Linked DNA regions of Homo sapiens: regions 1, 2, 4, 5, 6 and 7 are each linked to region 3. The links are contacts of gene promoters, found by promoter capture Hi-C in blood cells and fetal thymus (Javierre and others, 2016). All regions are on one chromosome and are shown on one strand. Each heading gives the region's core, a stretch centred on a gene start or on the middle of the fragment in contact. The rest is flanking DNA. Distances are from core to core; before and after follow the strand shown. Region 1 overlaps LAMB3 (laminin subunit beta 3). Region 2 overlaps HSD11B1-AS1 (HSD11B1 antisense RNA 1). Region 3 holds the start of UTP25 (UTP25 small subunit processome component). Region 4 overlaps CAMK1G (calcium/calmodulin dependent protein kinase IG). Region 5 holds the start of CAMK1G (calcium/calmodulin dependent protein kinase IG). Region 6 overlaps SYT14 (synaptotagmin 14). Region 7 overlaps LAMB3 (laminin subunit beta 3).

Evidence for each region. The method cuts DNA at HindIII sites, captures the fragments that hold promoters and counts their contacts. A CHiCAGO score of 5 or more calls a contact.
Region 1: a fragment that was not itself captured here is called in contact with the fragment with the promoter of UTP25 in region 3 in 1 of 17 cell types (neutrophils); the score reaches 12.7 in neutrophils.
Region 2: a fragment that was not itself captured here is called in contact with the fragment with the promoter of UTP25 in region 3 in 2 of 17 cell types (neutrophils and non-activated CD4 T cells); the score reaches 6.0 in neutrophils.
Region 4: a contact is called between a fragment that was not itself captured here and the fragment with the promoter of UTP25 in region 3, in 5 of 17 cell types (neutrophils, non-activated CD4 T cells, total CD4 T cells and 2 more). The highest score is 12.3, in neutrophils.
Region 5: a contact is called between a fragment that was not itself captured here and the fragment with the promoter of UTP25 in region 3, in 8 of 17 cell types (non-activated CD4 T cells, neutrophils, total CD4 T cells and 5 more). The highest score is 14.9, in non-activated CD4 T cells.
Region 6: a fragment that was not itself captured here is called in contact with the fragment with the promoter of UTP25 in region 3 in 1 of 17 cell types (endothelial precursors); the score reaches 5.2 in endothelial precursors.
Region 7: a fragment that was not itself captured here is called in contact with the fragment with the promoter of UTP25 in region 3 in 1 of 17 cell types (neutrophils); the score reaches 16.0 in neutrophils.

The regions. Positions count from the first base shown.
Region 1 is chr1:209,636,745-209,639,893 of GRCh38, reverse strand. It overlaps LAMB3 (laminin subunit beta 3), which reads left to right. Exons shown (of 23, transcript NM_000228.3): 4 at 1,246-1,360; 5 at 1,913-1,986. Among named protein-coding and RNA genes, the nearest start is that of LAMB3, 14 kb to the left of the region's middle. The HindIII fragment of the contact is 6,306 bases long and covers 1-3,149 here.
Region 2 is chr1:209,668,758-209,671,859 of GRCh38, reverse strand. The region is part of intron 1 of HSD11B1-AS1 (HSD11B1 antisense RNA 1); the gene reads left to right. Among named protein-coding and RNA genes, the nearest start is that of G0S2, 5.1 kb to the left of the region's middle. The HindIII fragment of the contact is 1,325 bases long and covers 792-2,116 here.
Region 3 is chr1:209,826,170-209,829,472 of GRCh38, reverse strand. It overlaps UTP25 (UTP25 small subunit processome component), which reads right to left and starts at 1,501. Exons shown (of 12, transcript NM_014388.7): 1 at 1,303-1,501. The coding sequence starts at 1,409. RefSeq lists an enhancer at 1,412-1,461. The HindIII fragment of the contact is 3,327 bases long and covers 1-2,582 here.
Region 4 is chr1:209,603,465-209,606,747 of GRCh38, reverse strand. CAMK1G (calcium/calmodulin dependent protein kinase IG) reads right to left here. Exons shown (of 13, transcript NM_020439.3): 5 at 1,074-1,212; 6 at 305-428. Among named protein-coding and RNA genes, the nearest start is that of MIR4260, 18 kb to the left of the region's middle. The HindIII fragment of the contact is 5,493 bases long and covers 1-3,283 here.
Region 5 is chr1:209,583,180-209,586,215 of GRCh38, reverse strand. It overlaps CAMK1G (calcium/calmodulin dependent protein kinase IG), which reads right to left and starts at 2,502. Exons shown (of 13, transcript NM_020439.3): 1 at 2,444-2,502. It overlaps LOC107985256 (a long non-coding RNA gene), which reads left to right. Exons shown (of 3, transcript XR_001738443.2): 1 at 1-15. The HindIII fragment of the contact is 187 bases long and covers 1,203-1,389 here.
Region 6 is chr1:209,994,621-209,998,150 of GRCh38, reverse strand. All of the region lies in intron 2 of SYT14 (synaptotagmin 14), which reads right to left. Among named protein-coding and RNA genes, the nearest start is that of SYT14, 58 kb to the right of the region's middle. The HindIII fragment of the contact is 2,003 bases long and covers 1,258-3,260 here.
Region 7 is chr1:209,619,733-209,623,009 of GRCh38, reverse strand. It overlaps LAMB3 (laminin subunit beta 3), which reads left to right. Exons shown (of 23, transcript NM_000228.3): 17 at 1-28; 18 at 330-474. Among named protein-coding and RNA genes, the nearest start is that of MIR4260, 2.1 kb to the left of the region's middle. The HindIII fragment of the contact is 3,615 bases long and covers 1-3,062 here.

The sequences.
Region 1 (3,149 bases), core at 162-2,661, 190 kb after region 3:
ACAGGGTGTGTGGAGGGACAGTTTTCCCTACCCAGAAGGACCTGCAGGTCCAGGAGTTTCTTGTCCAAGACTTGCATCTATTTGTGGGTAAATCTGGAGCCCTCTGGACAGTATGGTTTAAGCTGCGCACAGGGTTTGGGATCATGGCTACTCAGAGAAAGCAGATTTTATGTATGTTATATGGGGGAGCTGGGAAAAGGTCGTGTTATCTGTGTGTGTGTGTGTGCGTGTGCGCATGTGCACGCGTGTGCGTGTGTGTGTGTGTGTGTATGTGTATATGTATGCACATAGGCACAAGCTAAAAGAACAAGGGATATATCGCCTCTCTGGCCATGCTCTTTTTCTTGGTGATCCTTGCTCTGCCATGAAACCTATGGGGTTCAGTTCTGGCTCCTGTCTCATTCCAAGAGATAAGCGTAGGCCAGGTTATTGGTGACCTCCCCAGTGAGGCCGGTTGCTCTCCTGTAGGTAGGGAATACCGAACCTGAGAAAGATCCTCACGCCCCAGATGTCACTGCTGGAAGGCCTTAGAGATCATTTGAATGTCACTAGAATTTTGGGTCCCTGAGGGCAGGGCCTTTGTTTTGTTCCCTATTGTAACTCCAGAGCCCAGAGTAGAGTCTGGCACATAGTATATGCTAAATAAGCATTTGCTGGGTAAATGAAAAGCTCTAGCTCAATCCCCACTTAATTTATGGAGGAGAAAGTTAAGCCTAGGAAGTAGAGGTGACAGAGCTAGGACTGTAACTCCACATTTCCTTGTCCTCTTTTGGAGTCCTCTCTCTCTGATCCTTAAAACCCCAGAATTTCCCAGGCTGCCAGGATTAAATGAGGTAAACTATAAAACTTTCCAGCCTGTGCCCAGTATGTCGTAGATGCTCAAATAATATGAATTTCTCCCCCCGCCCCCCTTTTTTTTTTCTCGGCACTTTTCTCAAGTTTCTCTGCAAGGCAATATCATATACTCAAGTATTTTTTCCCACCTCGTACCTCTTCTCCGTTCACACATCTATTCACCATTCACTTGCTATGTGTTAGGAGGGGCACCAAGGAATTAAAAGATGACCAATTAAAAGGTGATCAATAGCTGTGTTTTAAGAGATTAACCCTTCAAATTGTATTAATAAAATTAGTGATTCCTAAGGGCAGGATTTCCACAGAGGAGATATGCTGGGATCTCAGGACGCAAGGGGGAATTCTATCAGGACCCCACCTCTGAGTGTCTGCTATCTCCCTCTCCCACAGTGGCAGATGAAATGCTGCAAGTGTGACTCCAGGCAGCCTCACAACTACTACAGTCACCGAGTAGAGAATGTGGCTTCATCCTCCGGCCCCATGCGCTGGTGGCAGTCACAGAATGGTGAGCATTTGCCATCTACGGGAACTCAAACTGTACAGCCTCCACAGGATAAGACGGATGGAAGGTGCCCTATAACCCTTTGGGTTTCCCAGGCATTTCTTATGGTGGTGTGACATGGGTGATTGATAAGAAGAATCTTTCTGCCTCATATTTGGGGTCTGTTGGATGTTATGGTAGAAGAATTTATTGGAGGTGAAAGAAAGGGTGTGAGGAGAGAGGAATGTCTTTATTTCCCTCCACTCAGTCTCAGTGGGTGGGCTTGCAGAATTAAGTTTGGGGAACAAGTCTGTGTGGAACAGACAAGTTGAAGCCCTCCAAAGTATTGAAGACATCAGGTGATGGTGGGAAGGAAACTTAGCCAAAAACAGATAGGATCTTGAATAGATAATATAAGCAGAAACATACCACTCCCCACTCCTCTCCAAGAGGGAGTTTGGAAAATCAAGGTTAGAGAGTTTCTGAGTTCCTAGAGCTAGTCTAATCCAGGGCTTCCTTCAGGGCTGGGGAAGTGGACAGTCTCTGGATGACAGTTTCTATTTTTTGTCCTTCCAGATGTGAACCCTGTCTCTCTGCAGCTGGACCTGGACAGGAGATTCCAGCTTCAAGAAGTCATGATGGAGTTCCAGGTGTGCCTCCTGGGGGTGGCAGTGGATAGGAGAGGGGCTCCTGGGCCATGTGGGCGTGGAGCCATGGAGGAGCACAGTGTCCTTGTCTCTCTGGGTTGGGGCAACACTCACCATGAGCCTATATCATGGTGACAGAAGAGGACTCGCTCCTGGGCTAAAAGTGGCACCTCCTGGCTCCCTGTCTTGGCCGTGCAGTGGTTGCATATCCTCTTCCTCTCTCATTCTCCACCCTCAACCCATCTAATTAATTCAGCTCTGCCAAGTACCAATTCTACTGGGCCCGGTTGCTTGTTGTACAGTTGTGTATTCTTGGTATACTCTGTTTTAATAACTTTGCATATTAGATTGACTTTAACAAGCAGCCAAGAACTTGCCTATCCAACTAACTGATGGATATTCCTTTGGTGCAGCTCTCTTGGTGGGCAATCTACTCATTCAGCGCCATTACTTCTCAAAGCACTTTCAGATTCTGCCTTTAGAACATCCTTCTAGATACTTCTTTTGGAGGAAACATTTTCATTTAATTGCCATAGGTCAATTTTTTCTTTTCAGAGATGATTTGGTTTTATTCTTTCTACAGAAATAGTCAGATATTCAATGATCAAATTTGGTTAATAAGATTAAAGGATTAGGAAGGGAGATATAATTTTCAGGAGTTAAAATGAGCTTGGAATAAAAAGTAATAGGACCTAATTTCTTACATGACTGAAGAAGTTGGCTCTAAGAGCCTTGCCCCATCTAAAGGTCAAAAATATTTTGAGAAATGCCAGCATTGTTTGAATAAATGCCCAGTCTCTAAAGGTGGCAACTTTGAAGGGCAGCATATTCATTTGATAGACAGTGTTAAATAGTCTCCTCACTTTATCATCGCTCACCTGTTCATTTATTTGTCATTTATTTGTGAGCGCTTATTGAACACTGATTACTCATTAGGCTTGGTGTCAGATGTTAGGGATATAAAGATGAATAAAACCAAATCACAGTCTTCAAGCTGCTTTCACCATACGTGGGGAAGTCAGTAGTGAGAGAGTGCAATGTGTGCTCTGATATTGGTAAGAAGAGGTGCTGGGAGCCCAGAATGGGGCTCTTGCATGGTCTGTCTTGGGAGGGCTTGTCAGGGAGTGCACCCAGGGGAAGATGAACTTTCATAGACCAGTAATGGC
Region 2 (3,102 bases), core at 205-2,704, 160 kb after region 3:
GGATAGGGACTTTGGTTTGCTCCTCACTGTGTCCCCAGTGCCCAGTATAATTCTTAGCACATAATAGGTCCTTAATGGGTAACTATGGGATTAATGAATGGCTTTTCCATGGACTGTGAAGCCTGGCAGGGAAGGGACTGTTTTTTGTTTGTTTGTTTGTTTGTTTTTGAATGCAGTCCAACTTTTAGTAGATGCTTAAAGAAGCATTCAGGTTTTTGAGGGGACAGTTTTTTTGCTTTTAATCCTTTCTCCTCTAATCCATCTTAAACACTACCACCAAATGAATCTTCCTAAAATTTAATTTTTTATTGTCAACTGCCTGTTTAAAGGCCAAGATCATTTCTCATTGCCCACATAATGGACTCCTGGATCCTGCATGTTGAATTTGCTTGATTTAGTATTCTTGGAATTCAGGCTCTCTATGGTCCGATCTTCTCCTGTTCTTCTCCCACAATAGCCCTTTGCTCCACAGAGAGGTTTCTTCACAGGCCAAGAAACAATTCATTCGCATTGCTGCTGCTTCATTTATTTTTGCTCACACAGTTGTTTCTACCTGAAATGCTGTCCTCTTTCTACTTTGTCTTCCTTTCTTCCTTGAGGTCAAGTTCAATTTCCTGTGCTCCAAGAAGCTACCACTGCCCATGGCAGCACACCTTGATCTCTCCTTTCTGTGAATTTCAGTTGCCTTTGGGGCTTGTACTCTACAGGCTGGCACTGGATGGATTACCGTTTTGTACAACTCTGTCATTGTTTCCTGTGGGCTTGCCTCAGCTCTGTGGAAGACAAAAGCTTTGTATCTTTCATGGTGTTAACATAGAATAGGAGGCTAATCAATATTAGTTACATTGACCTAAAAGTCAGTGCTGAGATAGAGAGGGCAAAGTGACCAGTTAAGGCTCTCTTGGGAAGTTATTTCAAGCACAGTAGCCTGTCCTTGGCTCAGAGCCTTGGTGTTGAAATTGCCCAAGACCTGGCAACTTGGCTTAGTTTCCTCCACTCTGGTCTCCTCACCTTTCACTTCCACTCCCAACTTAGTGTCTGACATTGTAGCCATTGGCTCACTCTGGGCACCCTCCAGCCTGCCCGTGGTACAAATCAAGGCAAAGGAACAGACTTTATAGGCATTCTGCTTTTGTCCTTCATAACTTTTGGTCAAGCAGAGCCACCAGCTGCTGGGGCATGCAGACTGTGCTGGAAGCCTTGAATAGCCATGGGTGGTGTGGTTAGAATTACCTGCACCCTGCTGCCTACATACCACTTCCAGATTAAACAATATACTTTACAAGTTTGAGTCAGCACAAGGAATTTTCCCCAAGCTCAAATGCCAATTGGTCTTAAGGGTATAGGGCTCTAAAGTCAAGCAAACCTGGGTTCCTCCAAATCCTGACTCCTCCATTTGCTAAGGCCTGACCTTGGGCAAGTGACTTAACTTCTATAACTTCTACTTCCGTATCTGTGAAGTGAGAGTTATGATAGCCCCTATTAAATGGGGTGTGGTGATGATGATAAGCCCCTATGAAACAGATATGATGAAGAGTGAATGAGATAGAGCTCTGTAAGGGACTTAGGCAGTTTCTGGCACAAATGAAGCAATCATTAAATGATGGCTGTTATTATTCAATTGTCTTTGCCTCTTGCTCTACGTCGGCAATTTCCATGATGCTTTATCCCAGCCCGGGACATTTGCATTCCTTAGGTGACATTTAGGTAGCTTCTAGTAAGGTCCAAAAATATTTGTTGAAGCCAGCCATGTACCTGACACTGTGTTAAGCATAGTTATAGGAAGCAGAATGTGTGATGGCTCACACCTGTAATCCCAGCACTTTGGGAGGACAAGACGGGCGGATCAGGAGGCTGGGAGATCAAGACCATCCTGGGCAACATGATGAAACCCTGTCTCTACTAAAAATACAAAAATTAGCCGGGTGTGGTGGCACATGCCTGTAATCCCAGTTACATGGGAGGCTGAAGCAGGAGAATCACTTGAACCCAGGAGGTGGAGGTTGCAGTGAGCCGAGATCATGCCTCTGTACTCCAGCCTGGTGACAGAGCAAGACTCTGTTTCAAAAAAAAAAAAAAAATGCAGAATACAAACTGCATTTGCCCTCAAGAAGCTTATAGTGAAGTAGAGGACACAGACTGTAAACGAGTTATTATTGTATATTGGGAAAGGCACCGTAATAGAAATTTATACCAGATGAACAAAAAGCACAGAATGAGACAGGTATTGATGCCCTTTGGGGAGGAGGTAGTCAAAGAAGGCCTAAGGGTAAATGATTCCTGAGAGGCTTGGGATGTTAAAGGATGGATGGTGTTCACCAGGTGGTTCTGGGACAGGGTGTTGTTCAGGGCATGGGGAGGCCTTGAATGAGATGGGACTGCATGTGAAAAGGGAGGATGAAAGATAAAGCATCACATGGTCCAAGAGAAGTTAGACAAGTTGGTGTTAAATCATAAAGGATGGATTTTGGGAAATGGCAGAAAATGAGCAGGAAGCAGTAAGTAGGAGCCAGATAATAAGCAGTTGTATCAATAATCACTTATTCATCCCATGCCTAGGAATTGCTGACCACTCCCTTCTAGAAACACATTTCTCCTTTGCTTCCACGATACCATATTCTGCTGGTTTTCCTCTTACCCTATTCTGGACAAAACTCAGGATCTTTATCTCAATTGTCCTCTTTATCTAACCTACAAATGTCAGCATTTCTCAGGACTCAGTCCTGGAGCCCCTTTTCTTATTCCACATGCTCTCTTCAGTGATTTAATTTACTGCCAGGGCTTCCATTGCTGCTTCTACACAGATGACCTACAAGTCTGAGCTCTAGACCTGTGTATCCCTCTACCTATTCTACATTTTGACTTGGATGTCTTGCAGGTATCAGAATTACTGTGTCTAAAGCCAAATTCAATATTTCTACCCCATAAACTTGTAACCATCTTTCTTAACCTAAGCTGCACCATTCACCTAGCAGCTCAGGTTTGAAGTCAAGGAGCCATCTTTTCCTCCTTGCTCTCCATCACCTCTCCAATGTGAAAAATCACCAAGACTTGTGGCTCACGTCTGTAATCCCAGCACTTTGGGAGGCTGAGGCGGGTGGA
Region 3 (3,303 bases), core at 252-2,751:
AAAAGAATGTCCCTAACTGATGACAAAGCAGCCCAAAGTAGTGGGATGAGCATTGAGATCATAACTGCACCTAGACATTTCTAGAGAAACCACAACTACTAATACACTTAGTTCCTTATCGTAATTGCAAAGATCAATGATGTCCCAACAAATTCTTTAAAAACACACACAACATATGATGTGACTATAACTAACAATTTATTGTATATTTTCAAATGGCTAGAAGAGCGGATTTTCAATGTTCCCAACGCAAAGAATTGATGTTTGAGATGATGAATATGCTAATTACCCGGATTTGATCATTACACATTGGGTACATGTATTGTTATCAAAATATCACACTGTATCCCACAAATATGTACAATCATTTTATGTAAGTTAAAAATAATTATAAAAACAGGCCAAGCGCGGTGGTTCACGCCTGTAATTCCAGCACTTTGGGAGGCCAAGGCGGGCAGATCACCCGAGGTCAGTAGTTCGAGACCACCCTAGCTAACATGGTGAAACCCCGTCTCAACTAAAAATACAAAAAATTGATCGGGTGTGATGGCGGGCGCCTGTAATCCCAGCTACACGGGAAGCTGAGGCAGGAGAATCGCTTAAGCCCGGGAGACGGAGGTTGCAGTGAGCTGAGATCGCGCCACTGCACTCCAGCCTGGGCGACAAAGCGAGACTCTGTCTTAAAAAAAAAAAATTATATATATACATATATATATGTGTGTCTACAAAAAATTCCTAGATCTCTGACCACACAAAAATCCGCCCCCATAGCTGGGCGCGGTGGCTCACGCCTGTAATCCCAGCACTTTGGGAGGCCGAGGTGGGTGGATCACCTGAGGTCAGGAGTTCAAGACCAGCCTGGCCAACATGGTGAAACCCCATCTCTACTAAAAATACAAAAAATCAGCCGGGCTTGGTGGCGGGCGCCTGTAATCCCAGCTACACGGGAGGCTGAGGCAGGAGCATCGCTTGAACCCGGGAGGAGACAGAGGTTGCAGTGAGCCAAGATCGCGCCATTGCACTCCAGCCTGGGCGACAGAGCGAAACACCGTCTTAAAAAAAAAAAAAAAATCCTCCCCCACACAACGGGCGTGCCTCTTAGCAGGAAATTACAGGCTCAACAAAAAGGCCCGTGAAGCACTCCATCTCCCGGCGGGATGGCGCCAGAATCTCCCCGGCCGAGCACAGCGGGAGCCAGGGAATAGTGGGAAAAGGCCGGAGCAGCACTATCTGGGAGACCAGAGGACCAAACTCGAGGATACATCTCTGGCGACTGGGGAGCCCTGCCACGCCCCTTCAGACCTGTCATAGAAGGGATGCTCCTCGCCGAAATCTCGAAGATGTTTCTTCTGCTTTTTAGTTAGGGTGTTGAGTAGCTGGCTCTGGCTCCGGCTCCCGCGTTTGCCCATAGCGAAAACGTCAAGTTTGCCCACTTGCAAGAGTCGCGGTTTTCCACCAGGAAGTTGTCCAGTCAACACAAGCACGTGGGCTCGCTGACTGCGCTTTACGGCGAAAGCAAGGTGCCATAAAGCAGATCCGCTTTACGTCGCGCTCGTACGACAGGCTTAGAACATCCGGTTCCCGGTTCTGCCCCCTACCGCAGCTCTTTGAAAGCACGGGAGTTCGTTCACTAGTGTTCTCAGAGCCCTAGAACGTGGGCAGCTGGGCTTCCCGGGTTGCGTGAGTCGGGGGCATGAGCTTTGTGCTTGTGTTTTGGTTATGGAAATCAGTCTGCGTAAATGTGTAGTAGCGGAGATAGTCGAATGCAGTGACTTTACAGTATACTGCAATAAAAATATCAACCAACATTTAAGGGTGCCTGAACATCTCACTTCATCACCACAACAGTGTACAGATAGGTCTTGTTAATAAGCCTGGTGTTGCAGATAAGGAAACTGATGCTTAGAAAAGATAACACGCTAGCGGCCGGGCGCGGTGGCTCACGCCTGTAATCTCAACACTTTGGGAGGCCGAGATGGGCGGATCACCTGAGGTCAGGAGTTCGAGACCAGCATGGCCAAACATGGTGAAACCCCGTCTCTACTAAAAGTACAAAAATCAGCCGGGCGTGGTAGCGGGCGCCTGTAATCCCAGCTACTCAGGAGGTGAGGCAGGAGAATCGCTGGAACCCGGGAGGTGGAGGTTGCAATGAGCCGAGATCACTCCACTGCACTCCAGCCTACTCCAGCCTGGGCGACAAAAGCTAGACTCCATCTCGAAAAAAAAAAAAAAGAAGAAAAGAAAAGAAAAGATAACACGCTAGCAAGAGAAGAGAGAAAAACCTTAACTGATGCAACCACATGCTTTTACCCATTAGGGTCTGCCGCCTGTGTGTGTTATATCAATCATGGGGCCCACAAGTCTGAGATTCCCACCCTCACCCTATTCTCGCATTTTCTGAAAGTATTGGAAGAGTCCCCGCAAACAAATCTGTTCCAGCATTCCCCATTTAACAACAGCAGAAACACATCTAGAGAGGTAAAGTGACTTTACTGAAATCACCCCAGTCAATGCTAGAAAAGGCTGTGAAACCCAATCCAGTGTCTCATAACTGAACTCGGACAAAAGGGGATGGAAAAGCTTTTGAAGGTAAAGGAACCATCTTACATTTTGATCATGCTAGTAGTTACACCTTGTATACATAAGAAAAGTTAAACTGTACAGTTAAAATGGGTGAATTTTAATGTATTTAAATAACACCTAAATAAACAGGAAAAAGCAAAAATATAAAAGTAGACTCAGTATTCTAGGGATTTGCAAGTGTGCAGGGCTGCTTGAGACCACAGGATAAAGATGGTGAGATCCTTTTCCTAATAGTAACTTATGCTACCATGTTCTATAGAAACAGAGTGCTTAAATCATAAGCCGCAGAATTCACTTGAATATTTACGGTAAAACAGGAGCGTCCAAAATGAGAGAAATGAGAAGCAAAATAATAGCTCTGCTATTGGAGTGCTACTGTGGGAAATTTGGGTTTTCCCTGATACTGTGTCACACCATAGAAGTTGTAATAAAACCATTAGAATGCGATTCTTGTCAGTTCTAGTGACCATCTACTATTCCTAATTAGATTCGGAGAGGCTGGGGTGGGGATGGGAGGACAGGGCCGGAGAATATGAGGAACACATGCAAACAGAGCGGGTGGTGCCCAGCAGCTGGGCCAGCCAAGGAACCCATAAATAGCCATTTGTCTTCTATGTAATTTCAAGATAAAAGGTACAGTCACTTAGGTCAACAAAAGCCTGTTTGCAAGATGTCATCATATATTTTAAGGTGCTGACCACAGTATAACTTGGCTATAGC
Region 4 (3,283 bases), core at 127-2,626, 220 kb after region 3:
TGCCCCTGGTCCAGCTGGAAAGACAAAGGCTGGAAGTCTATCCGCAGAAATGAGAGCCAAAGCATAGGCAGGGACTCTGGAGGGCTCAGGGGTAGGCGGTCTTTAAAAATGTAGAATTTGGGAGCAGTAGAGATAGATCCTGAGACGGATGAATTGGCTGGCCCTAAACTTTATAAGTGGATGTCCTACCAGGATAGCCCCTGAAGTTGAACCCTATGTTCTCAGAATCACCCCTTTCTATGAATGATAGGCATGTGGTTGAATGTAGCCAACTGGTCAACCTTCCTCCTGCTCCCAGACTTACCCACGTAGCCTGGGGTCCCACAGGCAGTGGACATGATGCCATTCTGTTCCATCTTGGACAGACCAAAGTCAGTGATCATGATCTTAGAGTTCTCTTCAGGGGTAAGGTAAAGCAGGTTTTCGGGCTGTAGGAGAAAAAATATGTAGTGTAGGATATAACCACCTGAAGCAAGTATTTTCCTTCCCCTTGATACAAAATTTCACAGGAAGATGAGCCCTGGGCTCCTGACTTCAAGGCCAGCTCATCCTCCCCCATTCTTCCCTTCTTCCTCCTACCTGCACCCTCACACCTGCACCCCAGTAGTCTGCACCTTGCTTATGGCTCTGACTTTGCTCGGTCTTGTAAACATTAATATACTCACCCTTTCCTTCCCTCACTTCCAACTACCCTGTTTGTGTTTTGAGAGAACCAATCTTTGGTTAATGGTGTCTGATCTCTCCAGAGTCCAGTGCAAGGCCTAGTACAATGTAGGCCCTCAGTAAATATTTTGTTGCATTGGGTTTTGACTGTGGCTGGATGTAAGAAATGTGTGTATTATTTTGGTATTGAAATAGGGTAAGGCATAGTGAAAGTTTCAGGAAAAATTGAGGTGCAAATTAGTAACCATTGTTCACTCATCCAAGGTCTGTTTAAGGAATCTAAGGGCAGAAGGGGCCTTGGGAGTCACTAGTCCAACCCTCTTACTTTATGGAGCTTAGATGTCCCATGACCCATGCAGCTTCCTTAAGGGTCATTATCTGTTTCCCACCCAGGACTCCCGCCTTGACACCTTTAAGTCTCTGTGGACGATGCCATTCTCATGTAGGTATTTCACTGCCGACAAGACCTGCTGGATCACCAGACTGGCATCCTTCTCTGTGTAGACACCCCGCTCCAGGATCCGGTCAAAGAGCTCCCCACCAGAAACACTGTGGGCATAGGATCAAGACAGGAATTCAGTTCTCATTTCACTCAAAGTAATGAGAAGGTGTTTGCTTTGAAGCCTTGGGGGACACAGCTGCAGTGGAACAGGCAGGCCCCCATGAACTGTGATTGAAGGGCTGCCAGCAGACTACTCCAGTCTCAGAACACCCACTCTGGGTACCTGGAGTGATATCACTAGGCAGTCATCTCTTTGGGCCAAGCATTGACCTCTCTCTCTGAAAATTTCCTTTAAAATGTAAATGCTTCTGGTTGGGGCTGCACAAGAAGCCAATAATCCCTTAGTGTGGACACACTTCTTAGCCACCTTCCTTCCTGGCCTATGACACAGGAAGCCATGATGAAAGAGAGAGGTAACACAGAAATTAAGCAAAGTAGGAAAGAGAAGGCATGCAAGTGAGACTAACCGTACTTATATCAAGATTTCTCTTCTCATTTTGGGAAATTGGGCTTCATAAAGCTGGAATTACAGGTAGGGCTTTAGGGGTGCTTTGAGACTCAAATGGTAGAGTATCTTAGGACCCAGGGGAGCTTAAAGATCAAGTCTGACTTCTATCTCATGAATACCATCTACTCTATTTTTGCCTAGAAGTTTTCTAGTGAGTACTAGAACACATAAGTGTCAGAGAACACTCTTCCTCCTAAGACAGAGTGTTTTTTGGAATATTCCTAATGTTTCTGCACATTATGTTGAAACCTGATGCCCTGTCATTTCTACCAGTGCTACCAATTCCACCCATCGGGACTGCACAGAACAAGAATAACAGCCTTTCCTGTGCACCTTTCAAGTATACAAAGATAGTGAAATGCTCTCCGGAGGGCTTGCCTTCTCTGAGATAAGCATTCCCAGACTATTTCAACCGTGAGCCAGGGGTTCCAGTCCTCTCACCCTCCTAGTCCCCCTTACCACTGTCCCATGACATTAGATGTGGCCATCCATGCCCAACTAGTGATGAGGGAAAAGAATTTCTCCGATCAAAATTTACCTCATCCTGCTCTTTGGCTTTTGGTCTTTAGGCTTTGGGCGCTCCTATAGTAGCTGAAGGCCTGTAGGAAATACACTCTTTGTACAGAGCTATGAATTCTTAACCCTGAGGGGCCTGAGTCCTGGAGCTATGCTCTGAGGAGGCTTAGTGTCTCCTCAGGGACATCCAACTCTTCCCATCTCCTTGCCTCCCTGCCTTCTGAATTACTGTGTGCTAATCCTGTTGGCTTGGCCTCATTGTAGTGCCTGATGGTCCCTGATCACTTGTTAGTGCCACTAGGGGCCCTTTCCACCTCACTCCCTTGACTGCCTGCTACCTCTCTTTAGAGGTCCTCAGATAAGCCCCCAGTTAATCAGGTGCTTAGGCCTGAGTTATCTCGTTAAAGTTTCTTAGTAATCAGCCCATCAGCCAAAAACCACGTTGTGTCCAGCCACGCTGAGATTGCAGAGTGGTGTGTGAGTGCGTGTATGTCTGTGCATGTGCAAGTGTGTGTATTTGTGTGTGTGTGTGTACTTTATAAACAGAAGTGTCTTTGAGCCCAATGCTGAGCCCTTATGAACACTGACCAACCTCTACAGCAGTTGCTGTCAGGCAGAGCTGTTGTTTGGATGCAGCAATGACGCAGAGACCTTGCTAATGAAGCACCACTTCTGTCCTACAGATGGACACATACAATCACAGCCTGTCTTTAACTTTGGGTGACTCTGTTTTGGGAAAATCTTTCTTTATATTGAAATATATCTACCTGTGGCTTCTGCTCCTACAGTAATTTTATGCTGGAGTGATGTTAAAACATTTACTATCCAATTTGATTAACATGTATTGGTCCAAAAGGACTGAAGCCACAGTGCCAGAAAAGGGTTCTGGTGACTCCTTGTTAGTCTGGCATTACCCCTTCGGTCGTTTGGTTGCAAGGGGCGAGGAGGGGTGGGGCAGCAGAAGGACATGGATGGGTTGGGGTCGCAGCTATTTGCTGACTGGTAGGAAATATTCTAACCACTGATAGGGTTGTCCTGGTGCAAAGGAGCTTAATAATCAGCCCAGGTTTACCCTGTGGCCCACATAGAACCTG
Region 5 (3,036 bases), core at 47-2,546, 240 kb after region 3:
GCCTCTTTTGTACAGGTTGGACGCTCATTACTATTAACCTTCCCAGCTAGGCACTCTACTCTGGCTTCCAGAAGGGGAGAGGAAGGATCTTTCCCCTACCAGGGATAGAGTACAAAAGGAAGGACAGGCTGAACTCAGGACGAAGGGCTGTGTCAGGAAGCTCTGAGTTACCAGCCTTTCCTCCAAGGACATGGGTTTGACAATCCTGGATAGTCCGTGCAGTCCCCTGCCTGCTTCAGTTTGCTTTCTTGCTGGCAGCCGCTCCCACTCAGCCCCAACCCCCTCGCCATTGACCGTGGCGGCGCGCCTGCAGTTGTAGCGCCAGGCACGCAGCCTGTTTGCAGACTCAGCCGCTCCCCTCATTCATGCTGCAGCTCATTCACTCGCTGGCGCTGGCAGGCTGCGGCTGGGCGCCGCCACTCGCGCGCACTCGTGTGGCAATTTATTTCTGGCCCTGTGTGCGTGTGTATGGGGGAGAGGGAGCGAGGGAGGCGCTCTCCTCTTAGAGGGGGATGCTTTTTCACTTCCAGGTAGAATCGCTCCCAGGCTTTATAGTATTCGCTGCCCTGGACCACGCACCTGGGTGGGGCACCGCGCTAGGCACTTTGCATGCATTATCTTGTTTAATGCCCCACGGCCACCTTTCCAGGTAACCTCATTTTACAGCTGAGGTACTGATAAGTAGAAATGTTCAGAAAAATCCCCCACATCAAACAGATAGTGAATGATACAACTGAATTGGATTCCAACGCTAGTCTTCTCGTCACTGTACCACATAACCTGTTGCCTCTTTCCTGGTGGCAGTTGCTGGGATGTCACTCATCTCCACCTTCATCCTTATGATGCTGTAATGCAATCCTAACGTCTGACTGATTACCCTGGGAACACATGGCTCGGACAATCTTGAAAGGGCTGAATCCCTAAAGCACTCAGATTTCTCAGCATGGAGGCTGGGGACAGCATGTCTATTGCCCCAAGCCTCTCATGGTTCCAGCTCAAACCATTTCTCACTCTAACCTCAAGCTTCTTTCCCAAAGAGTACTTTCTGAAGAGTGCTCTTAATAAGCATCCACACACACACACACACCAGAGCAATCTGCAGCATCGTGGAAAGTTCACTGAATTTATCAATAGATCTGGGTTCAGTTGCCACCACCATCACCAGCTTTGCAACCCCAGGCAAACCCTTTAACTTCTAAGCTTCAATGGTCTCATCTATACTAAAGGGGAAATAATACATGCCACACCATCTGATGGGATCGTCCTAAAGATGATTAATTATAAACACATTATAAACTGTAAAGTGTGGTCCCCATATCAGGTATTACTAAGCACTCTGTGTTACGGCCTGTTTCAGAGGTGGGTCTCATCTTTGGTTCTGGTTAAGCTTGGGTCAGCAGGAATGACAGGGACCTTGTTCTGTCTTCAGCTTATGATCTGGAAAAGATCATCTTCTTACCTAAGGCGGAATCTGCTTGACTCTCTTGACCCTTCTCAGAGGCTTTCCTCATGATCAATTTATCTGACTCCAGAGCAAGAGGCTGGCCAGACAAGCACTGCAGCCAGACCAGCGTGAGCCCTGGCAGCCATCTCCGGGAGCCTCAGGGTTAATGTTTGTGCGTCAAAGTTACGTGGAGAGAAGGGGCCATGGTGTGGATGGGGGTGGTGGTGGTGGTGAATCCAGACCTCCTTTTAAGATCTTCACTTGAGAGGTAAACTAGGGAAGTTTAAAAACAGAAGGGAGGTAGACGCGCCCCTGGGGAAGGTGAAGGAAGCTGTCTTGTGACTGACAGCGATAGCTCGGCTGCGTTCTGCATCTTAACGCGGCTGAGGATAGGGAGCCTGAAGCCTGTCCACAGACTCCTCCAGGAGGGACTGAGGCTGACTCGTCTTCCTTAGGCTTGCAGAGCCACAGGCTGTTTACAAATCTTTTTGCCATTGGTTCTGCTAATCCTCCCAATAACCCAAAGAGGTCGGCAGAGAGGGCATACTTTATTTGATGGATGGGGTCAGAGAGGTTAAGAGATGAAGGTTGAGCAGGAGGGAGGGGTGCAAGAGAGTTGGAGGTCCTAACACCCCAGCAGATGGACGGGGTCCCTCTAGGCACAGAGCCTTGTCCCTAGAATGCAGGCATTGCAGGAGGGGCACATGAAGATATTTTTCTCCCTTTTCCCTGCCCAGAAGGGCAAAATGCTTCCATGAAAGCCAGCCCAGGAGTGACGGACAGATAGCTCCACCCGGACCCCCCATTCAGACTTATTTTCCAAGACAGCTATAACTCACCCTTGATGCCAAAAGAGTCAGGGAAGACTGGAACTGGGGCTGAAATAAATGCCCAAGTTGCTTACAAAGTGGCTCTTCAAATCCACTCACTAGGTGCTGCACGCTTCCCATTAAGCAAGGAGACCCTCTAAAGCCAAGAAAAGAAGCAGGGTTGTCTTACCCAGGGACTCGGGAAGAATCCTGCTTGAGCTCCCACTCCAGCTCCTACAGGTCTGTGAGGATTAGCTGCTCCAGTGCTTTAACAATAAACCCAATTAAAGGGGAGGAATGCAGGAGTTTTCTTTCCCAGGACCGTAACCACGCAGCCTTAAAGGGGAGTAAAAGTAGCTAGGGTGGCTTGCATCTCTCTTTCCTTTCCTCGGCTCTGCTCACCCTCCCTCCCAGCGTGCAGTAATGAGTCTTATCCAGAAAAATGCTTGTGCATTTTTGCCTGGTGTGTGTGTGTGTGAGTCTGTGTGCATGTGTATGTGAAATTGTGTTTGCATTGATGTGTGTGATGGAAAGACAGAACGGAAGAATGAAAAACAAAAACATCAAATTATAAGTTCCCATTATCCTGAATGGGTGATGACAGAAAAAAATCAGAGAAGCTTTCTAGGATTGTCTGCCTCAGTTTCCTTTTTAACCCCTCAGGTGCTGGTGTATGTTGTCTAAAAACACCTCCCTGAAAAACAGAACATCTACACTGGCTGACATGTAGGGACTGAAGACAGTGTCCACCTTGCTTGTTATCTCTTACAGAACTGGGAGAAA
Region 6 (3,530 bases), core at 1,010-3,509, 170 kb before region 3:
GAAATACTACATAAAATTAAACAAAAAAACCCTAGAAATAAAAATGATTAATACTTTTTTCCTGTGTACAAATATGAAAACTCTGTCTTAAAAACACGCAATCAAAATTCAAAGTTAAACAAAAAAGACGGCAAAATTTAACATATGGTTTTAAAAAATTACTCAAAAAAGCCTTTAACTTTTTAAATAAAGAACATTATAAATCTTCAAGAATAATTTCCATGGAGTAGTCACCAAAGAAGAATGTTGAATTCTTAAATGTTAAATCACCGTTAAAATTGAAAAAATATCCAACTTCAGAGTAATAAAGCAATTTTAAATAATAAATTTTTACTTTCAACTTTTATTTTAGATACAGGGGGGTACATATACAGGCCTGTTACATGGTTATTTATATTGCACCCAGGTAGTGAGCACAGTACCCAATAGGTAGTTTTGTAACCCATGCCCCCATGCCCTCTGTAGTAGTCTGCAGTGTCCACTGTTCTCATATTTATGTCCCTGAGTATCCAACGTTCCATACGAAATTTAGAATAGCCTTTTTTTAATTCTGTGAAGAATTACATTGGTAGTTTAATAGTGATAGCATTGAACCTGTAGATTGCACTGGGCAGTGTGGCCATTTTAACGATATTAATTCTTCCAATTCATGAGAATAGAGTGTTTTCTATTTGTATCATCTCCAATTTCTTTCAGTAGTGTTTTTTAATATTCCTTATAGAGATCTTTCACCTCCTTGGTTAGATGTATTCCCAGGTATTTCATTTTTTGTGTGGCTATTATGAATGAGATTGTGTTCTTCATTTGATTCTCAGTCTAGGCATTATTGGTGTATAGAAATGCTACTGATTTTTGTACACTGATTTCATATCCTGAAACCTTGCTAAAATTGTTCATCAGTTCTTGCAGCCTTTTGGTGGAGTCTTTAGGATTTTCTACGTGTAGAATCATATCGTCAGCAAAAAGAAGCCATTTGACTTTTTTTTTTCTTTTTTTCCCTATCTGGATGCCTTTTATTTTTCCCTTGCCTGATTGCTCTGGCTAGGACTTTCAGTTCTGTGTTGAAGAAGAGTGTTAAGAGTAGACATTCTTGTCTTGTTCCAGTTCTCAAGGAGAAAGGTTCTAGCTTTTGCCCACTCAGTATGATGTTGGCTATGAGTCTGGCATAGATGACTCATTATTTTGAGGTATGTTCCTTTGATGCCTAGTTTGGTGAGGGTTTTTGTCATGAAGGGATACTGGATTTTATCTAAAGCTTTTTCTGTGTCGATTGAGATGATCATGTGGATTTTGCTTTTGATTCTGTTCATGCAGTGAATCACATTTTTTGATTTATGTATGTTGGAACAACCTTGCATCCCAGGAAAGAAGGCTACTTAATCATCGTAAATTAACTTTTTGATATGCTGCTGAATTAGATTTGCTAGTATTTTGCCGAGGATTTTCGTGTCTATGTTCATCAATATGTTCAGGATACTGGCCTGAAGTTTTCTTTTTTTGTTGTGTCTTTGCCAGGTTTTGGTATTAGGGTGATGCTGGCTTTGTAGAATGAGTTAGGGAGGAGTCCCTCCTCCTTGATTTCCTGGAATAGTTTCAGTAGGATTGGCACCAGTTTTTCTCTGTGTGTCTGTTAGAATTTGGCTGTGAATCCACCTGGTCCAGGTCTTTTTTGTTTTGGTTAGTAGAGTTTTTATTATTGATTCAAATTCAGATCTTTATATTGATCTGTTCAGGATTTCAATCTCTTTCTTATTCAATCTTGGAAGACTGCATGTTTCCAGGATTTTATACACTTCCTCTAGATTTTCTAATTTGTGTGCATTAGAGTTGTTCACATCATTCTCCGAGGATCTTTTGTATTACTGTGGGATCAGTTATACTGCCATCTTTGTCATTTCCAACTGTATTTGTTAATCTAGCTAGCAGTCTATGAGTCTTGTTTAATTTTTCAAGGAACCAACTCTTGATTTCATTGATCTTTTGTATGGATTATTGTAGCTCAATTTCATTAAATTCTTCTCTAATTTTAGTTCTTTCTTTTCTTCGGCTAGCTTTGGGTTGGTATTTTTTCTTCTTTTCTAGTTCCTTTAGGTGCAAGGGTAGATTGCTCATTTGAGATCTTTCTAAATTTTTGATGAAGGCATTTAGGGCTATAAACTGTTCTCTTAAAACTACTTTAGCTGCATCCCAGAGATTCTAGTAAGATGTGTCTCCATTTTCATTAATTTCAAATAATTTATTTCTGCCTTAATTTCAACGTTCCCACAGGAGTTTCAAGAGTAAGTTGTTTAATTTCCATGTACTTGTGCAGTTTTGAGAGATCTTCCTTATACTGATTTCTATTTTTACTGTATTGTGGTCTGAGAATATGGCTGGTATGATTTGAGTTTTTTTGAATTTACTGAGATTTGTTTTATGACTGAGCAGGTGCTGGCTCTTAGAATATGTTCAGTATGCATATGAGAAGAATGTATACTCTGTAGTTGTTGGGTGGAGTGTTCTGTAGATGTCTATGAGGTCCAATTGGTCAAATGCTGAGTTTAAGTCCGGAGTTTCATTGTTAGTTTTCTGCCTTGATGATCTAACACTGTCAGTGGGGTGTTGAAGTCTCACCCTATTATTACGTGGTTGTCTATATGTCTTTTCGTAGGACAAGAAGAACTGGTTTTATGAATCTGGGTGCTCCAATGTTTGGTGTCTATGTATTTAGGATAATTAAGTCTTCTTGTTGGATTGTACTTTTCATCATTATGTAATGTCCTTCATTGTTCTTAATTTTTATTGGCTTAACATATGTTTTATCTGATATAAGAATAGTGACTTCTGCTCTTTTTTTGGTTTCTGTTTGCATATCTTTCTCCATCCCTTTCCTTTGCGCCTACAGGTGTCACAAGAGGTGAGATGGTTCTGTTGAAGACAACAGATGGTTGAGCTTTCTCTTTTTATCCACCTTGCCACTCTGTGTCTTTTAAGTGGGGTTTTAGTGTATTTACATTCAAGGTTAGTATTGATATGTATGATTTTCATCTTGTCATCATCTTGTTAGCTGGTTGTTAGGTAGAACTGATTGCATAGTTGCTTTATAGTACCTGTGAGCTACGTACTTAAGTGTGTTTTTGTGGTATCAGATATTGTTCTTACGATTCCATGTTTAGCACTCCCTTAAAGACTTCTTATATGGCTGGTCTAGTTGAAACAAATTTCCTCAGCATTTGCTTAAAATCTGATGAAGATTTTATTTCTCTTTCACTTATGAAGCTTAGTTTGGTAAGAGATGAAATTCTTAGCTGGAATTCCTTTTCTCTATGGATGTTGAAAATAGGCCCCCAATTTCTTCTGGCTAGTGAGGTTTCTACTGAGAGGTCTGCTGCTAACCTAATGAGGTTCCCTCTGTATGTGACTTGACCCTTCTTTCTAGCTGCCTTTAAGATTTTTTCTTTAATGTTGACCTTGGTGAATCTGATGGCTATGTGCTTTGGTGACGGTTCCTGTCTATAGTATCTAGCTGGTGTTCTCTGTATTTATTGGAT
Region 7 (3,277 bases), core at 6-2,505, 210 kb after region 3:
TGCCCAGCTCCAGCGGACCAGGCAGATGGTAAGTGCAGCCGAGGCGGGGTGGGCACAGGTAGGAGGAGGCAGACAGGATAGATCCCCCGGGCAAGTCAGAGTTCCCATTTTACACTAAAGTCCAGAGATTTTAGGTGACCTGCTTAAGGTGCCACAGCAAGTGCAAGATAGTTTTTTTTCTCTTTTACTGAACATCCACATGTAAGCTGGGTTGGTTACAAATGCTTCCTAGGTAGGTCTTGGCATAGAGGATGATCCGCAGAATCGTGGGGCTGCTGAGAGGTTCCCTTGGGGCCTTACCCCTTCTGACCTAGAGTGTATGTCAACAGATTAGGGCAGCCGAGGAATCTGCCTCACAGATTCAATCCAGTGCCCAGCGCTTGGAGACCCAGGTGAGCGCCAGCCGCTCCCAGATGGAGGAAGATGTCAGACGCACACGGCTCCTAATCCAGCAGGTCCGGGACTTCCTAACAGGTGAGCCCAGTCTCCACCCCACCTTGGCTGCTGTTCCAGTCCTGCCTGTCCCGCATTCCCATGTTCAGTGCATCAGCCAGCCCTCCCTCCCTAGTCCCAGGCCTGCAACATCCAGGCCTCCACTTCTCCTTGGCACCATGGCCATGACCTTCTCGTTCTCCCGTCTGCCCTCCCCACCCACTCCAATCCCTTGTGACCCATTCTCATTCTCAACACAACAGCTGAAATATCTCTTTTAAAATGCATAAGTCAGATCACATCTCACTCCTGCTTAAAATCCTTCAGTGGCTTCACCTTGTTCTTGGAATGAGCTCTCAACTCCCATCGTGGCTACAGAGCCTGGCCTCTGTCCATCTCTTGGGAGTGACCTTGGGCTCTTCTCTGCTTTGTTCACTGGCTGTCCTTGAACATGTCAGGCTCTTGCCTGCTTCAGGGATGTTTATTTGCTCTTTGTCTGCCTGAAGTCCTCTTTCCAGGGCTGCTGCTTCTTGTCCTCTGGGTCATCTCCCCAGAGAGGTGTTTCCTGACCATCCGATCTGTTTGTCCCCCATCATCTTACTTTCCTTGCACTACTCACCCTCATTCAGTTGTCAACAAGTGGATTGTCACTCCACTAGAATGGGGACTCCAGGAGGGCAAGGATGGTTGTCTGTCTTGTTGACTACTGTGTCACCAGCACCTAACATAAGGCCAGACACAGAAAGACATCTGACATTGGTGGCATGAATAAATGAACCAGACACCCTTCCTCACTGCTCTGGGGAGTGAGGAAGGGCTGTACAATGGAAAGATCCCTAAACAGGACCCGGGAGACTCGTGTGACATTGGGCAGGCTGCTTTTCTCTTTGCCTCATCTTTTGCTTCTATAAATGGGGACGGTAGTATTTCACAAGTTTATTCTGAGGATCAAATAACTGATGTAAAATGTGTTTTGAAAAAGGAAAAGTGCCTCAGGAACAAGAGTTGATATTGTTAGATTTCTGGTTCCTGCCAGGTTATTTGCTTGGCTGGGAGCCCAGTTAATACGAGCCCAGGGCTTGGTGTAATGACAGTGGCTCCTCTTGCTACTATTACAGTGTTTTTGCCCCAGATAGGCCGAAGTCCCCTCCTGAGTGCAGGTGGCAGGTCAGAGAGGGGCAGGAAAGTTCTTCTGAGGTCTCATGACTTGCATAAGGCCTTGAGGCACTCACCTGGGGAAAATATTACCTGGGGATGTAGGGAGATTGTGCCCCACAAACGTGGATGATGGGGGAGGTCAAGGTGTGGGGCTTAGGCTCATGGATAAGGGATTCTTGCCCCTGAGTCAAGTCCAGTGAGGCTGAATGGCCACTCATCCTGCATTAATCTCAGCCAGGGCTCTGGCCTCAGTGGGTGGGAGGTGAGTTGGAATTCTCTCCTGCCGGGTGCAGCTGAGGCTCATGTGAACAGACAGGGAGCTGCCAGGCCCCTTTTGTCCTCTCTCTTATACTTGTATCTCAGGTCAAGTCTTATGATGAGTCCAGGGTCAGAGAGAAAAAGCAGGGCCTGAGAGAGGCCTGGCCCCAGGGGGAAACCCAGGAAAATTTTCTGTAGCGGTGGGCTTGGACTCTGGTCTCCAGAGTCCTGGTGCAGAAGCCACTGAGCGCTGGCTGCTGTCCGATATAGGGTCACAGTGTGGGAGGGAGAGTGGAAAGTCTGTGGAGGGAGGAGGAAACATCGCCTTTCCCAGTTCTTCAAATGGAATTGACAAAATGAATAGTTAAGGCTTATTAAGTTCTAACTGAGTCCAGGCACTGTTCCAAGTGCTTTGCATGTATTACATCATTTATTCCTGACTACATGAACTAAGTACTCTTATTACTTCCACTTTGCACACAAGTAATCTAGGCACAGAGAGGTTAAGCAACTTGCCTAAAGGCATCTAGCTTGGCAGTGGTGCAGGTAGGCTTCAAGCCTAATTGTCTGACTCTGTCATTCACACCCTATTGCTTTACGGCATAGACACACAAATACATACACACATGCGAGTGTGCATACACAAACACACTTTCTCTTGCCTCTTGCCTTTGCGAATGTTTTTCCTCTCTCTGGATCGTCTCCCCTCTCCCACCTCTGCTGACCTGTCTAGCTCCTGCTCATCCTCTAGGAATCTAGGCATCCCACTCTCCAGGCAGCCTCCCTGGACCTATCAGATGGCGCTGGGGGCCCCTTCCATGGCCATCATAGCACCTGTGTTTACTCCGCTCACTCAAAGCTGTACTTCCTTGTTCATGTGCCTGTCTCCCATTAGATTTCCAGCTCCATAAAGGCAGGGACTGAGTTTAATTTGATTTGCAGTCTCAACTCCTCCCATGCTTTTGCTCAAAGCAGTAAATATTTACTGAGCCCATCCTGAGACCCAGAAGGCTCTGCGACTGAATGTCATACCGATTGACCCTGAGGATGCAGCTGAAGTGGTGCAGAGTAAAGGAAGGGCAAGATCTAGGTGGGGATGTGCTCATCCTGGAAGGCTTTCTTGAGAAGGTGCACATGAAGCCTTGTTTTGAGAGTGGGACTCTGGGTTAGAAGAGAGGTTGACGAGCTCTATTAGGAAGGTCCTTATGAAAGCTTGCTGCTGGGATAAACCCACTTAATGAAACTCAACCACAGTTATGCTGCATGCAAGCCCCGAGGGACACAGCAATGAACAAGCATGGCTTCCACCCTCCAGGAGTGTCCTTCCACCTGGCATGGGATGGGGCAGGGAATGAGACCTGTGTGACCAGCTAGTATCCTCTAGTTGTAGAGTGAAACTGGGCCTGGGGCCCCAGAGGAGTTCAGATTC